Linked DNA regions of Homo sapiens: all the other regions are linked to region 2. Evidence: promoter capture Hi-C in human tissues and cell types (Jung and others, 2019). All regions are on one chromosome and are shown on one strand. The core of a region is centred on a gene start or on the middle of the fragment in contact, and the rest is flanking DNA. Distances in the headings are between cores, read along the strand shown. Region 1 holds the start of RBFOX2 (RNA binding fox-1 homolog 2). Region 2 holds the start of TXN2 (thioredoxin 2). Region 3 has its middle 19 kb from the start of APOL4. Region 4 has its middle 23 kb from the start of APOL3.

The links. The method cuts DNA at HindIII sites, captures the fragments that hold promoters and counts their contacts. A contact is called where the count stands out against the background at its distance.
Region 1: a contact is called between the fragment with the promoter of RBFOX2 here and the fragment with the promoter of TXN2 in region 2, in 1 of the 25 tissues and cell types used here (bladder).
Region 3: a fragment that was not itself captured here is called in contact with the fragment with the promoter of TXN2 in region 2 in 1 of the 25 tissues and cell types used here (mesenchymal stem cells).
Region 4: a contact is called between a fragment that was not itself captured here and the fragment with the promoter of TXN2 in region 2, in 1 of the 25 tissues and cell types used here (mesendoderm cells).

The regions. Positions count from the first base shown.
Region 1 is chr22:36,026,737-36,030,075 of GRCh38, reverse strand. It overlaps RBFOX2 (RNA binding fox-1 homolog 2), which reads left to right and starts at 1,252. Exons shown (of 14, transcript NM_001349999.2): 1 at 1,252-1,836. The coding sequence starts at 1,651. RefSeq lists a silencer at 1,017-1,086. The HindIII fragment of the contact is 7,839 bases long and covers 1-3,339 here.
Region 2 is chr22:36,480,044-36,483,074 of GRCh38, reverse strand. TXN2 (thioredoxin 2) reads left to right here and starts at 1,435. Exons shown (of 4, transcript NM_012473.4): 1 at 1,435-1,511; 2 at 2,238-2,500. The coding sequence starts at 2,238. RefSeq lists an enhancer at 59-1,005. The HindIII fragment of the contact is 22,621 bases long and covers 1-3,031 here.
Region 3 is chr22:36,218,781-36,222,212 of GRCh38, reverse strand. No RefSeq gene overlaps it. Among named protein-coding and RNA genes, the nearest start is that of APOL4, 19 kb to the right of the region's middle. RefSeq lists an enhancer at 1-125. The HindIII fragment of the contact is 3,793 bases long and covers 1-3,146 here.
Region 4 is chr22:36,136,450-36,139,904 of GRCh38, reverse strand. No RefSeq gene overlaps it. Among named protein-coding and RNA genes, the nearest start is that of APOL3, 23 kb to the left of the region's middle. The HindIII fragment of the contact is 4,055 bases long and covers 1-3,323 here.

The DNA of each region.
Region 1 (3,339 bases), core at 3-2,502, 450 kb after region 2:
TCTCAAAAAAAAAAAAAAAAAAAAAAAAAAAAATGCCTTCAGTCACTGACAAATGTGGGAGTGGAGGTGGTGGAATGGCAAAATTTCTCCTTGGTTGAAAGCCACTGATCCAAACCATCTCATTTTACAAATGATGGAGCTGAGGTCCAAAGAGATGAAGTAACTTGTTTAAGCTAGTTAGCAAAGCCAAGATTAGAATCCAGGTTATTCACGCAATATCCTTTTATTTCTATAACGTACAGGGCACGATATGGAACTCAGAGGAAGTCACTGCAGTCCTTGTCCTCACAGTCTGGTAGGGGAGAGAATCTATTGCACAGATATCTCTATCTCCACGAAGTTGGTAAGTCATAAAGTGCTCCTCAGGCAGCAAGGTACGAAGAAAGAGAATATGTTCTCGTGTTCTGAATTCCGGATCTGCCACTTTTTTGCTGCAGGATTTAACTAAGGTTCAGTTTCATCATCAATGAAATGGAGATCATGGTATCTACTTATATCACCAGTTTGAAACGGGTCTGTGGATGCATTGTGCAAACTCTAAAGCTCTTACAAACATCGGGTATTATTACTAACTTCATTAGGAATGTGAGTTATATTAGAGTAAAAGCTCTCAGAACTGGGGTGAACCATAGAGGGGTGGCTTCATTCCTCGACCTTCCAATTTGAGACATTTTTTCTTCTGCGGGAGGGGAAGCAGGCAAATAGCCTGCCTCTCACAGAGTGCCCATTCCCTCTCCGGGAACCAAGGTGCTCAGGCGAGTAAACTCAGGACTTAACTCTGTACAACTAGTACCGCAAGCAGGAGCCACTCCCTGGCCTTCGGGTCTCTCAAGCCCCGCCTGCTCCAGGATACGGCCCCGCCCAGAAAGGAGACAGACCCCGCCCCCCCCGCGCTGCCCCGCACTCCAGCCGCGCTGTGCCTCCAGGACAATCCCAGGCCCGTGCCGGAGATTCCCGAGCTTCCCCGATCGCTTCCCGGCCTCCCTCGGGCAGCCAGCGAGGAGACTACGGAGATTGCCGAGGGGGCCTGGCCCCGCCCCCCCCGCGGGCCGCCACCGCCCCCCTCGCCGTAGCCTCCCGCGCGGGCTGGAGTTCTACATCCCGGTCCCTCCCTCCCTCCCTCTTTCTCTCTCCCCGCCTTCCCGGTGCTGCCACAGTGGCGGGTCGGAGGATCCCGGCCAGTCAGCTCGTTCCTGCCTCGCGCCCCTCCTCCCCCCAAAATAAACAGCCCTCCCCACGCCTCGGGAGCCCGGACCGCCCCCTTCCTCCCTCGGCCGGCGTGCTGTGAGGGAGAGTGTGAGCCAGCGCGGCCGGTGGGCGAGCTCCGGGAGTGCGAGAGGCGGGGCGGCGCGGCGGGCCGGGCCGGGTTTCGCGTGTGCGTGCGGGGGCGCGAGCGAGTGCTCATCACGACCCGCCAGTGGCCCCGCGCCGACAACCCGGCGGGCGGGCGGGCGGGGAGCAAGCGGTCAGGCAAGGAGCGGCGGCCGCGAGGCGCGGAGGGGCGCGGAGTCCGCTCGCGCGCACGCACGCACGCACGCGGGGGCGGGGGCAGGCGCGCGCCCGCCTGTCGCGACAGTCGGGGCCGAGGCCCAGGGGGAGGTGGCCTGTCGCGGGTCGCCCGGCTCCCGGAGGCGAGGGGGGCGCGGGCGGATGGCGGAGGGCGCCCAGCCGCATCAGCCGCCTCAGCTCGGGCCCGGCGCCGCCGCCCGGGGCATGAAGCGGGAGTCGGAGCTGGAGCTGCCGGTGCCCGGAGCGGGAGGAGACGGAGCCGATCCCGGCCTGAGCAAGCGGCCGCGCACTGAGGAGGCGGCGGCCGACGGTGGCGGCGGGATGCAGGTGACCGCGCGGGACGGGGCGCCCAGTTATTGCGGGGGTGGGCGTGAGGGTCGACACCGGGCTCCCCGGCTTGGAGAGAGGGAGGGCCTCCGGGAGTCCTGGGTTGGAGGTGGGATGGGGGGCCATTCGGGGCCTGGTTGGAAGGTGGGGCGAGCTCGGGCTAGGAACGAAGGTTGCAGGACTGAACCTGGTGTGCCCGAGAGGGTCCTGATTCCTGAGGGGCCAGGAGGCACGACGAGTGGATAGGTTTTGGGGGGAAATCGAACAAGGTTGAGATGGATTCCATTTTTTCAAATCCTTCCTTAGTGCCTTGGGGTGGAGTGGAAGCCGGGAAATCCTGGCTTCTCTGGACTGAGTCGAGGAAAAGGAGATCTGGTGGGAAACCTCCCGAGAAGAGGGAGTACCTTTTGGCAGCCCTGGGCACACGCTGGGATGGGGAAGAGAAGTGGCATTTCAATGAGAGGAGTGAAAAGAAAACTCCTCGAGAGAGCCCCGAGGGGATGTGGCTGAGATTGTGGGTTAAATCACACAGAGTGTGAGAAGTACAAGGAGTTTGGTAATGTTATGGGGACACGGTGGTGCTCAGTCTCATTTACTTTGTGGAGCATACTAATGAGTCTGAAGGGAGACACTAGACATGTCCCTCCTGTTCTTTGCCAATTGCATTCTACATCACCAGGACACAAAATAGCTCTTTAATGTCCCGGGCTATAAAAAAAATTTTTTTATAGGGCTATTAGAAGACTGGATTCTCAATTCTGGATTGAAAGATAAACGTGGTTAATTTGGGTAGGGAATGGGAAAGGTATTGATGTCAGCTGACTTCATAGTTTTGAAGAAGACCTTGAAACCTTTGGAGGTTTTACGATTTGGTCTTTGCCCAGAAAATACTGCTATGACATGATGAGTCTCACCTACCAACAGTTGTGCAGACTTGTGCCTAATTCTCTCGGAGTCATAGGATGTTAGAGGGATGCTAGGAGGACTAGACATCATCTTTTCCAGGGGTTCTTAACCTGGGAAGACTTGGAAGATTCTTACTCATAGTAGGTGATGTGCACTTTTTGGTGGAGGAGAGTCAATAGTTTTCATCTTTGTTTTTTTTGGAGGAGATTCAAGTCCCAGCTTGTTTTAACCACCTTATTTTATAGATGGGGAATCAGAAGTCCAGAGAAGATGGTGACTTGGGTAAGGCCACCCAGTTAGCTAATAGTAAAACTAGAACTAGAAGCCTGGTCTTCTAATTCCTATTCCTGTGCTGTCTCCATTACACCACTCTTGGAAATCTCTGCAGTGCTAAAAGACTTCCTGTGCTCTGCTCCCTGCTTTTCAAGCCTCTGCCTGACTTCCTGTGTTAGGGACAGAGCTGTACTTAAGCCTAGCATGTTTGTTGTATGCTTCTTGGTCTCCTTTGCAGAGTTTACCCTGTTACTTCTGTTGATTTAGGTAAAGTGACCCTCTTGGTGTTTATTTTTGAATTCTTTTGTTTTGTTTGCCTGCTTT
Region 2 (3,031 bases), core at 186-2,685:
GAGGCAGAGGTTGCAGTGAGCCGAGATCGCGCCACTGCACTCCAGCCTGGGCAACAAGAGCGAGACTCTGTCTCAAAAAAAAAAAAAAAAAAAAAAAAAACTTTGATCAACAATTTGGAAACTGCCTGTTCTTTTAAAAACGCTCTTTCAGCTGCTGCTAATCCGAGTGTATATTCAGGACAACTTGAATCTCTGCTCCGAGTTGCAGTCTTCGAACTTGACCCAAAAAAACTCCCTGCTTAAATTAGGCTCGCCTCAGTTTTCATTTGTTTTCCTTTAGGCGGACACAGACGAGGGCCACTTAAAGGATGGCCCCTAAACTCCCGGTTGAGTTCTTTTACATATAAAGGGCATCATGCCTTTGAGGAGCTTAGCTTTACATATTAAATGGAGAAACAGAACCTGTCAACATCTGTAGGAAGTGGACAGCGCCAGTTATAAACAGGAGGCCAGGCAAGGTGGCTCACGCCTGTAATCCCAGCACTTTGGGAGGCTGAAGCGGGCGGATCACTTGAGCTCAGGAGTTCCAGACCAGCCTGGCCAACATGGCGAAACTCCGTCTCTACTAAAAATACAAAAATCAGCCCGGCGTGGTGGCGCGCGCCTGTAATCCCAGCTACCTGGGAGGCTGAGGCAGGAAAATCACTTGAACCCGGGATTTGGATGTTGCAGTGAGCGGAGATCACGCCACTGCACTGTAGCCTGGGAGACAGAGCGAGACTCTGTCATTAATAAATAAATATATGTAAATAAAATAAAGCAACAAGAGTTTGCAAAATCCAAAACCACGGGGACTTCTCAACTGCCTTTTCTCCCTTAAGTACCCTCCATTGCTACCCCTGCTCCATCACCTCCTCTTCCGGTCCCTCCTCTAGGGCCCGCCCACCCCTTCCGTTTCCGCCCCGCCCCGCCCCCGCCTTCGCCCAGACCAGGGCCCGCCCGCCTCTTCCAATCCGTTCCCCGACGGCCTGCCCATTGCTTCCGGTCCGTAGCTGAGGCCCCGCCCCTTCAACTGTGCCTCAGCCCGCCATTCCCATTGGCGGAAAATCCCAGACGCCCCTCAAATTGGAGAGGGACAGATGGGCGCTGTGGCTCACGCCCGTAATCACAACCCTCTGAGAAGCCGAGGCGGGCGGATCACGAGGTCAAAAGATCGAGACCGTCCTGGCCAACGTGGTGAAACCCCGTCTCTACTAAAAATAAAAAAATTAGCTGGGCGTGGTGGCGCGCGCCTCTAGTCGGGAGGCTGAGGCAGGAGAATCGCTTGAACCCGGAAGGCGGAGGTTGCAGTGAGCCGAGATCGCGCCACTGCACCCCAGCCTGGCAACAGAGCGAGACTCTGGCTCAAAAAAAAAAAAAAAAAAAAAAAAAATTGGAGAGGGACGCTCTTCCGCCTGCCTGTACCCGGAAGTGACGTTATGTACGTCCCCCCCCGAGGAAGTGACGACAGGCGTGCCCTTGACAGGCAGGGAGGGCTAGGCTGTGCATCCCTCCGCTCGCATTGCAGGGAGGTAGGAGCCCTGTGGGGGTGGCTCGAGGTGGTGTCGCGGCTGAGGCATGCCGCGAGCGCGTTCCTGCGCAGGCTGGCGGCCGGGCGGGCGGGGGGATCTAGCTCGCCGGAGAGCCAGGGTCCCTGGTGATGTCCGATTTTTCCCAGTTCCCTCCACACATGTCCCTTCTTTATTGGTTCCCTCCAGTACATGTCTCTTCGTTTTTGGTTCCTCTCACACTCTTAGTTCCTCCTTGAATTGTTGCGTTTCATCTTTTCAGACGACCCTGGGTTCCAGTGTTGGCTGTCATTTAATAGCGGGGTTACTTTGGGCATGTCACTTAACTTACTTGAGCCTCGTATTCCTTCCCTTACTCGCAGTGTGGGCAGTACAATAGCAACTTCCTGGAAGTTGCTGTAGGAAGACCAATAATGTGTGTAAGGTACTTGGTCCTTACATACATTATTAAATCTGTTGGTTTCTTCCTCCCATTCTTCCGTTATAATCTAAATCCCGATTTCTTTTTGGTTGTGAAGCCAGTTTTCCTGTCCTTCTGGTTTGCCTAGCTGTTCCTTCCCTTTGATTCTCATTGCTTCCTCACTTCCACGCTACAAATCTTACATATGATTTCCTTGCATTTTGCTTCCAACTCTGCCTCTTCCTGAGCCCTGAGTACTCCCCAAATCTTTTTCTAGTGTGTCGACTTCCTTTTGTGTGCCCCAGTTCTTCTGCCTCTTTCCCTCACAGATGGCTCAGCGACTTCTTCTGAGGAGGTTCCTGGCCTCTGTCATCTCCAGGAAGCCCTCTCAGGGTCAGTGGCCACCCCTCACTTCCAGAGCCCTGCAGACCCCACAATGCAGTCCTGGTGGCCTGACTGTAACACCCAACCCAGCCCGGACAATATACACCACGAGGATCTCCTTGACAACCTTTAATATCCAGGATGGACCTGACTTTCAAGACCGAGTGGTCAACAGTGAGACACCAGTGGTTGTGGATTTCCACGCACAGTGAGTATTGGGGGTCCACAGAAGACTAGGGTCCTACTTGTTCAAGTATTTATTGAATGCCTGCTGTGTCCCACGGCCATGTTCTATGCTGCTCATATGTAGACTCAATATACAGACTGGTCAGGCCCAGTCCCTGCCCTCAAGGGGAATGCAGTCTGGTGGAAGACAGACAAGTGAACAGTCTGCAAAGCTGACTGTTAGTGCTGGGAAACACATGTTCTGTTTCTCAATCCCCAGAAAGCTCAGCGTCATCTTTAGCATGGACCAGAGTTGGAAAAATATGACTGTCACCTTGCTTTTGGTGTATACCAGTTCCTGGCCCTGCAGATAAGCTGATGTTAACATCCTGCCATGAAAACCGCAAGAAGGGCTGGCAAAAAGTTATCAGTGTCGGCCGGGTGCGGTGGCTCATGCCTGTAATCCCAGCACTTTGGGAGGCCAAGGCGGGCAGATCACCTGAGGTCAGGAGTTCAAGACCAGCCTGGCCAACATGGTGATACCCTGTCTCTATTAAAAATACAAAATTAGCTA
Region 3 (3,432 bases), core at 1-2,500, 260 kb after region 2:
TCAGGGCCCTCAGCTGCACTTAGAAGATCTGGCTAGGATGAAATTTATCATGCAACCAGAAACCTACAGAATCAGTCTCTGAATTTTATTCTCATAGGAGGAGAGTCAGCCAACAACATCGACAGCCACAATTTATTTGATGCCTTCAGGAAACATTTCAAAGCCAGATGTTTGTTTGAAGTGTAGGTCCTGCTTCAGGTCCCAGCGTTCCTTGTCTCAGCCACGTTCCACCAGGTGGCAGCAGGTGCTATGCTGGTCGGCGTGGGGAGTTTCACTGTTGTTCCCCCTCCCTCTCAGCCTGAACGCTAATTCCACAAATACCAACCATCCTGAGGGTCTGTTATCTGCAACCAACTGGTTGGTATCATTTTTTTTTAAATCAGTCAAGATCCTTTGGATGCAAGCAGCACACAGCAAAGCAAAACCAAGACAAAAGCAAATGCAAGAACAAAAACAAATTAGACTTAAACATCCTCTGACCAACTGAAGAGTAGAGGTATGTATTGGAATGATCCAGAGAGAAAGGACACAGAATTAAAGATTTCAAAAAAGCAGAAACCTTTTCTCTGTGATGGACAGAAGACTCAGTTTCCCAAAGAATAAGACATCATATAGACAACATGAGGCCAACTGAATCTGTTTCTCTCTCTCATTTCTTTCTCTTTTATAGTTTGCTCAACAGGCAAACAAAACTCTTCCATCATGTTTTGATATTACACAAAAATCTTGTTCAAAAGAGAAAAACTAAATGTTACCTTTGTATTAATGGATTAGTAATGCTGAAGCTCATTTTATACAATCCTATAAACAAATCTATCAAATTTTAATTAGTTTGATCATGAGGTAAAATTTCCATAAATCTTTTATAGCTTTTAAGATTTTTCTGTTAAAGAGCAGATCAATATACCGAGTATTCCCTATTACTCTGACACAGAGGTTCAGAGGCTGGCCCAGCATCCATGTGCTATTTATGTTCATGTTCAATTTATAGAAAAACTAAATGATTTCTTTTAAATTTTAGCCAAACTTCATCACACATGGTTTCTTTTATGAGATCAATCTTCCACAAACCTACTACAATTTGCTTAAAATTTCTTTTTTGCCATATCTTTCTTTTAACTTGAAATGATCCTTAAAACCTCTAAACTAAACAAAATGATGTTTTCTTAAAAAGAACCACAGTCCCATGCCCTCTTTCAACCCTTTTATCAAAACACATCCTATCTCTTTAATACATTCATTAGTCAGAGTTCTCCAGAGTGACATGGTCAATAGAATACATGTACACACAGAAATACACATAGAAGTGAGTTTATTAGGGAGAACTGGCTCACATGATTACGAGCAGAAATCCCACAACAGGCTCTTGGCAAGCTGGGGAAAGACAGAAGCCCGTAGTGTGACTCAGTCCAAGTCTAAAAGCCTCAAAACCAGAGAAGCCGACTGCGTAGGTCTCGGTCTTAGGATGAAGCCCTGTAATCCTCCAGGAGGCCGCTGGTGCAAGTCCCAGAGTCCAAAGGCCAAAGACCAGGAAGTCTGATGTCCAAGGGCAGGAGGAGAGGAAGGAAGCATCCAGCACGGGAAGACAGAGAGAGTGATGAGCAAGCTGCTCACCCTTTTCTCTTCTGCTTGCTTTGTTCTGGCCTCACTGGCAGCTGATGGGATGGTACTGCCCACATTCAGGGTGTGTCTTCTTCTCTTAGTTCACGGACCCAAATGTCAATCTCCTTTGACAACACCCTCACAGACACGCCCAGAAACAATCCTTTACCAGCCATCTAGGCATTCCTCCGTCTAGTGATGTTCACACCTCATATTAACCATCACAATACACTTTGTGTATAGCCAGAAGGTGGTCTAGGCAGCAATAGATGTAATGTTTTAATTACATACATTAATTGTAATGTGAACTCTTGGTAACTCTTATTTTTATTGAAGAATCTAGGAGGTAAACAGTTTTAATTATGCACCAGATGCGTATCCCAGGATGAAGGGCAATGCCTGGGGTTAGTCCAAAGGCTTGATTCTCAAGACACATAGGTTTACAGATGAGATAAGCAAGCTTTAAAAGTATTACAGAAGCAAACTTTTTTATCCTAATACATCTAGCAGACAATAGTATCTGACCTGCTTGACTAATTCAGCCCAGATATCTAAATTAAGTTTTGAAGACATTTCTATTTTACCAATAATTTTTAAACTGTCTCTAGCAAAGATTATTAAAGTCACATGAAGTGAATGCTATTCAAATGAAAGTTTCTATTTTTCTGATAAAATATTGGATTTAAGTGCTTTTTTTGGCAAGCCAATTAATTAGACCCTTCTATATATTTTGATGGGGAAATATTATATACCTATAACACATATAAATACATAGACACACAGAGATGCGTACAGACCCAGATCCTGTAGATTTGTAAGATTTTTTATTTGTCACTTTTCCAAATTTTTCTCCCCCACTTTAGATTACTAATTTCTTTCTTTCTTTTTTTTTCTTTCTTTCTTTCTTTCTTTCTTTCTTTCTTTCTTTCTTTCTTTCTTTCTTTCTTTCTCTCTCTCTCTCTCTTTCTTTCTCTCTCTCTCTCTCTTTCTTTCTTTATCTCTTTCTTTCTTTCCTTCTTTCTTTTTTTTTGAGACAGAGTCTCACTCTGTCGCCCAGGCTGGAGTGCAGTGGTGCCATCTTGGCTCACTGCAGGCTCCGCCTCCTGGGTTCACACCATTCTCCTGCCTCACCCTCTGAGTAGCTGGGACTACAGGCACCTGTCACTACGCCCGGCTAATTTTTTGTATTTTTAGTAGAGACGGCATTTCACCGTGTTAGCCAGGGTGGTCTCGATCTCCTGACCTTGTGATCTGCCCACCTCTGCCTCCCAAAGTGCTGGGATTACAGGTGTGAGCCACCACGCCCAGCCCACCAATTTCTTGATAACCTGTTTTATTGCCTCAGCAATTGTCAGCCAGATGGCCCAAAGTTCGCACTCTAAAGGAACAAATCTTAGGTGACATCAGATAGAGATTTTACATCTCAAAGTAGAACTAAAACATTTGGCCTAAATATTGTATCATTTTGCTTAAACCAAGGGAAGAAAAACAACTGGAAGCGAACGCAGGTCTGGATGCTCCCCACCTGGATCATCCAATTAACAAGAGCGAGGTCTGCTAGAAAGAAAGTGTTTTTATTAACCAAAACGAGTAAAGGGGAAGTGGCTGGATTCCCTTGGAAAGCAATCACTTTTGCAATCTCTCCATATGACAAAGGTCTAATATTCAGAGTCTACAAGGAACATAAGCAAATTAGCAAGAAAAAAAAACCAAACAACTCCATTATAAAATGGGCAAAGGACATGAACAGACAGTTCTCAAAATAAGACATTCATACGGCCAACAAACATGAAAAAAAGCTCAACATCACTGACCATTAGAGAAATGCAA
Region 4 (3,455 bases), core at 47-2,546, 340 kb after region 2:
AGGCTGAGGCAGGCGGATTGCTTGAACTCAAGAGGAGGAGGTTGCAGTGAGCCGAGATGGCGCCAATGCACTCCAGTCTGGGAGACAGAGCGAGACTCCATCCCCCGCGTCCCCCCCCCAAAAAAAAACAAGGAAGAGAAAAGCAAAACCAGATGCCAGGAACCAATCAAGGAACTTTGTGGTGCATTGAGGAGATGAACCAGCCTGCAGTCAAGAGACCCCGCCTCTCTGAGCCTCAGTTTCCTCATCAGCTGGGAAAGAGGGGCTGGACAAGATGATATCTCAGGTCCACCTGGCTCTCTCCTCTTGTGTTCTGGAGATCTGGGTTCAAGCAACACTGATCTATGCCTGTGCCTTTGTGGTGCTGATGGATGGGCTCCCCTGGGCTCTCGGTGCCTGACTTCACTTCCTCATGATCCTTCTTCCAGGGACTCAGGGAGCTAGGCCTCCATGGCCCCTTCTGCTTGTTCTTCTGGTCGGTCATTTCTGGGCGACCCCAGTGCCCAGTGGCCTGTGAGGCACTCAGGGAAAGCTTGTAGACATCTGGCTTGGCCCAAGTGCAGGCATGGTCCCCATCTAGCAGCCAGGGCCCACGAATGACATGGGTCACACAAGGCTGACTAAAATCAGAGGGGCCTGTGTGTAGGTTGAGAGAAAGTCCATGAGAAATAGAGGAACAGAGAGAGATAGCCAGACAGCAAACACCCTCATCCAGTCTGCAAACACCCTCATCCAGTCTGCAAACACCCTCATCCAGTCAGCCCTCTCATTTCACCCAGACTCCTGCAAAAGCTTCCAGAATGGTCTTCCCTGTTATACAGCCCTTGCCACTATCCCTGCCCATCCTCCACACTGGGCCAATTTGCCCCGTAAGAACATAGATTTCTTCAAGCCCATGCTTCCATGTCTTCAATGGCTTCCTATTACTCTTAGCACAAAAGCCCAGAGCCTTCATGCTGTCTAATGTAGGCTGCTGTGGCCTGAGTTCCCCTGAAGGGAGAGCCCTAGGCAAGGCTCCCAGGCAGAGGATTTGTTTGGGAAGTGATTCTAGGAGCAGGACTGGGGTACTGGGAGGAGTGACACAGAGAAGGACAGAAGGCTGATGCCGGGAGAAATTCTTGATAGGGTCACCCATGTGGGCGACTGGAGACCTCCTGAGGAGTCTTCAAGGAGCGTCTTCAGAATGTTCCTCTACAGGGAGGAGAGAGGGAGGCCTGTAACCACTGCTCCTGTCCCCCATGGCCTTGCCCCAGTGGACATTAATTATCTGTATTTCCATGCATAGAATATAGAACTGCTGGGCGCCTCAGCTGGAGCCCAGAGCAGGGGCAAGAGATACAGAATGCACAAAATCACCCCAGAACCTCTCCTAAGTCACTCGTAAAGTGCACCCAGGGCCTACTTAGTCCTTTTTTATGTAGCATCCTGCAGAACACTTGCCTCAGTCCCTGTAACTCTCCATCAGCCAAGGCTTCCCTGACCTTCAGTTGATTCATCTATTTCTTCCTGAAGAAGTCAACAGAGCAACGGCCACCGACTTGCCTAACGCCAGAACATTGTGTTTCATTTGTCTGTCAATTGTTCATCAATTCCTGGATAATTCCCATTCTTTTCATACATTTCACTTAAGCTTTGAATGTTTCTGGCACTGAGTAATTTACTTCTTCAGTGATCCAGCCAGCATTTGCCCTGACACTTAGAGTTGAAATGCCATCAGGCTACCTGCATTTGATGCAATTCCACTGTACTGCTAGTATTGTTTAAAAATTTTTCAATTGCAAGCAACAGAAACAGAAACTATCTGTCTTAAACAAAATAGAAGATTCATTGGATGAAAACTAGAGCAGGTCAGAGGATGGAAGGAAGAACAAAATCTACAGAATTTGGAAGGACAGGAGCAGACCATTACCAACATCAGGAATATATGGTTTGCCCTTTCAGGGCTCTGCCTGCACCTGGCTTAGCTCCACACACTTTGATTCCTAGTGTCTCTGATTAAAGTTTCACATACTCAGTAGACAGAATAGCTTGGGTTAGTGACTCTTCTTGAACTAATCAGTGAGGCTATGGTATCAGGAATGGGGATGGGTAACAGAGACACAAACCCTAATGGGAAGCCTCTGGCCAAACAGCCACCTGAATTTGTGCTCATTGTATACAGTCAATCGCTTGCTACTGCACACACACTCTTCTTCTCATACAAACAAAAAGAACTCTCCTTATCTGCTATGAACCCAGCCATCCCAAGGAAAAAGGCAAATGCACTTGCCTCTTCCCCAGTGAGAGCCACACACAGCATCTCCACCTTCTGCATGCTGAAGTTATGTCACAGGAGGAGGGCCTCAGCACACGATCAATTTTTCTTTTGGTCCATTGGCAGCTTCTGTCTCAGAATTTTTGTGTGTGTATATTTGTAGAAAATAAAGAGGTACGGTCAAGGCTACAGCCACTACTGACCATTGCTGCCACCATCAGAAGTCTTGAATTGTTCCACTCAATGTTCCTCTTACTTATGGGCAAAGTCATTCTCGTGGTGTCTAAGCTCCTTGATGGTCTGGCCTCAGTAAGTTGGTGAAATTTCCTATTCACATTTACACTAATACTCTAACACTTTAGAGTATTACAAGGAGCAATCCTAGGGGATCCCTCAATTCCTCCTGTCCTGCTGTGTAATAACAACATGAGCTTCCCTGGAGGAACATGATGCATGATTATATCCAACCCAGTGACGTCATTGCTATCCCTACATCAGGGAGCATGAGAAGCCAGCTATGGTTTCTGCTGAAACAACTTTTGTCAACCTTAGATACTGAAACTTCCAGACCTAAAAGTCTGTGAGTTAGGAGTATGTATCATAAACAAAATTTTTGAAAGTGGTTTATTGTGGGTAACCATAGAGCTATCACCCTCATCTTAACCTCTGACTGCCCAGCTCCATGAATTCTGGCTATTACAGGAAATGGGGAAAATTCTGGGTATGGATTCAAAACATATCACATCCTAAGGGCAGCTCCCAGCCTCTGATATGGAGCTGAGTCCCCTTTGGGCCATTTCCATGGGACCTAAGGCTGTCATTTCCGGGGTTGAGATTCACTGGGTGCCAAGTGGTCAGCCTTGATGAGTGGGGTCCGTGTTGTGTGGTTACATAGAGCTCCACATTAGGCAAGTTGGTTAATGAGCCCATTCTGAAAATGTCAGGCTGCCTGGGGAACAGAGGAGATTTGAGCCTTAAAGAGTGACTTCTTCCCTTGTTTATTAACAGCCTCTGAGCCAGGCATGGTGACTCACGCCTGTAATCCCAGCACATTGGGAGACCAAGGCGAGTGGATCAGTTGAAGTCAGGAGTTGGAGACCAGCCTGGTCAACATGGTGAAACCCTATTTCTACTAGAAATACAAAAACTAGCCACCAGACATGGTGACGGGTGCCTGTAATCCCAGCTACTTTGGAGGCTG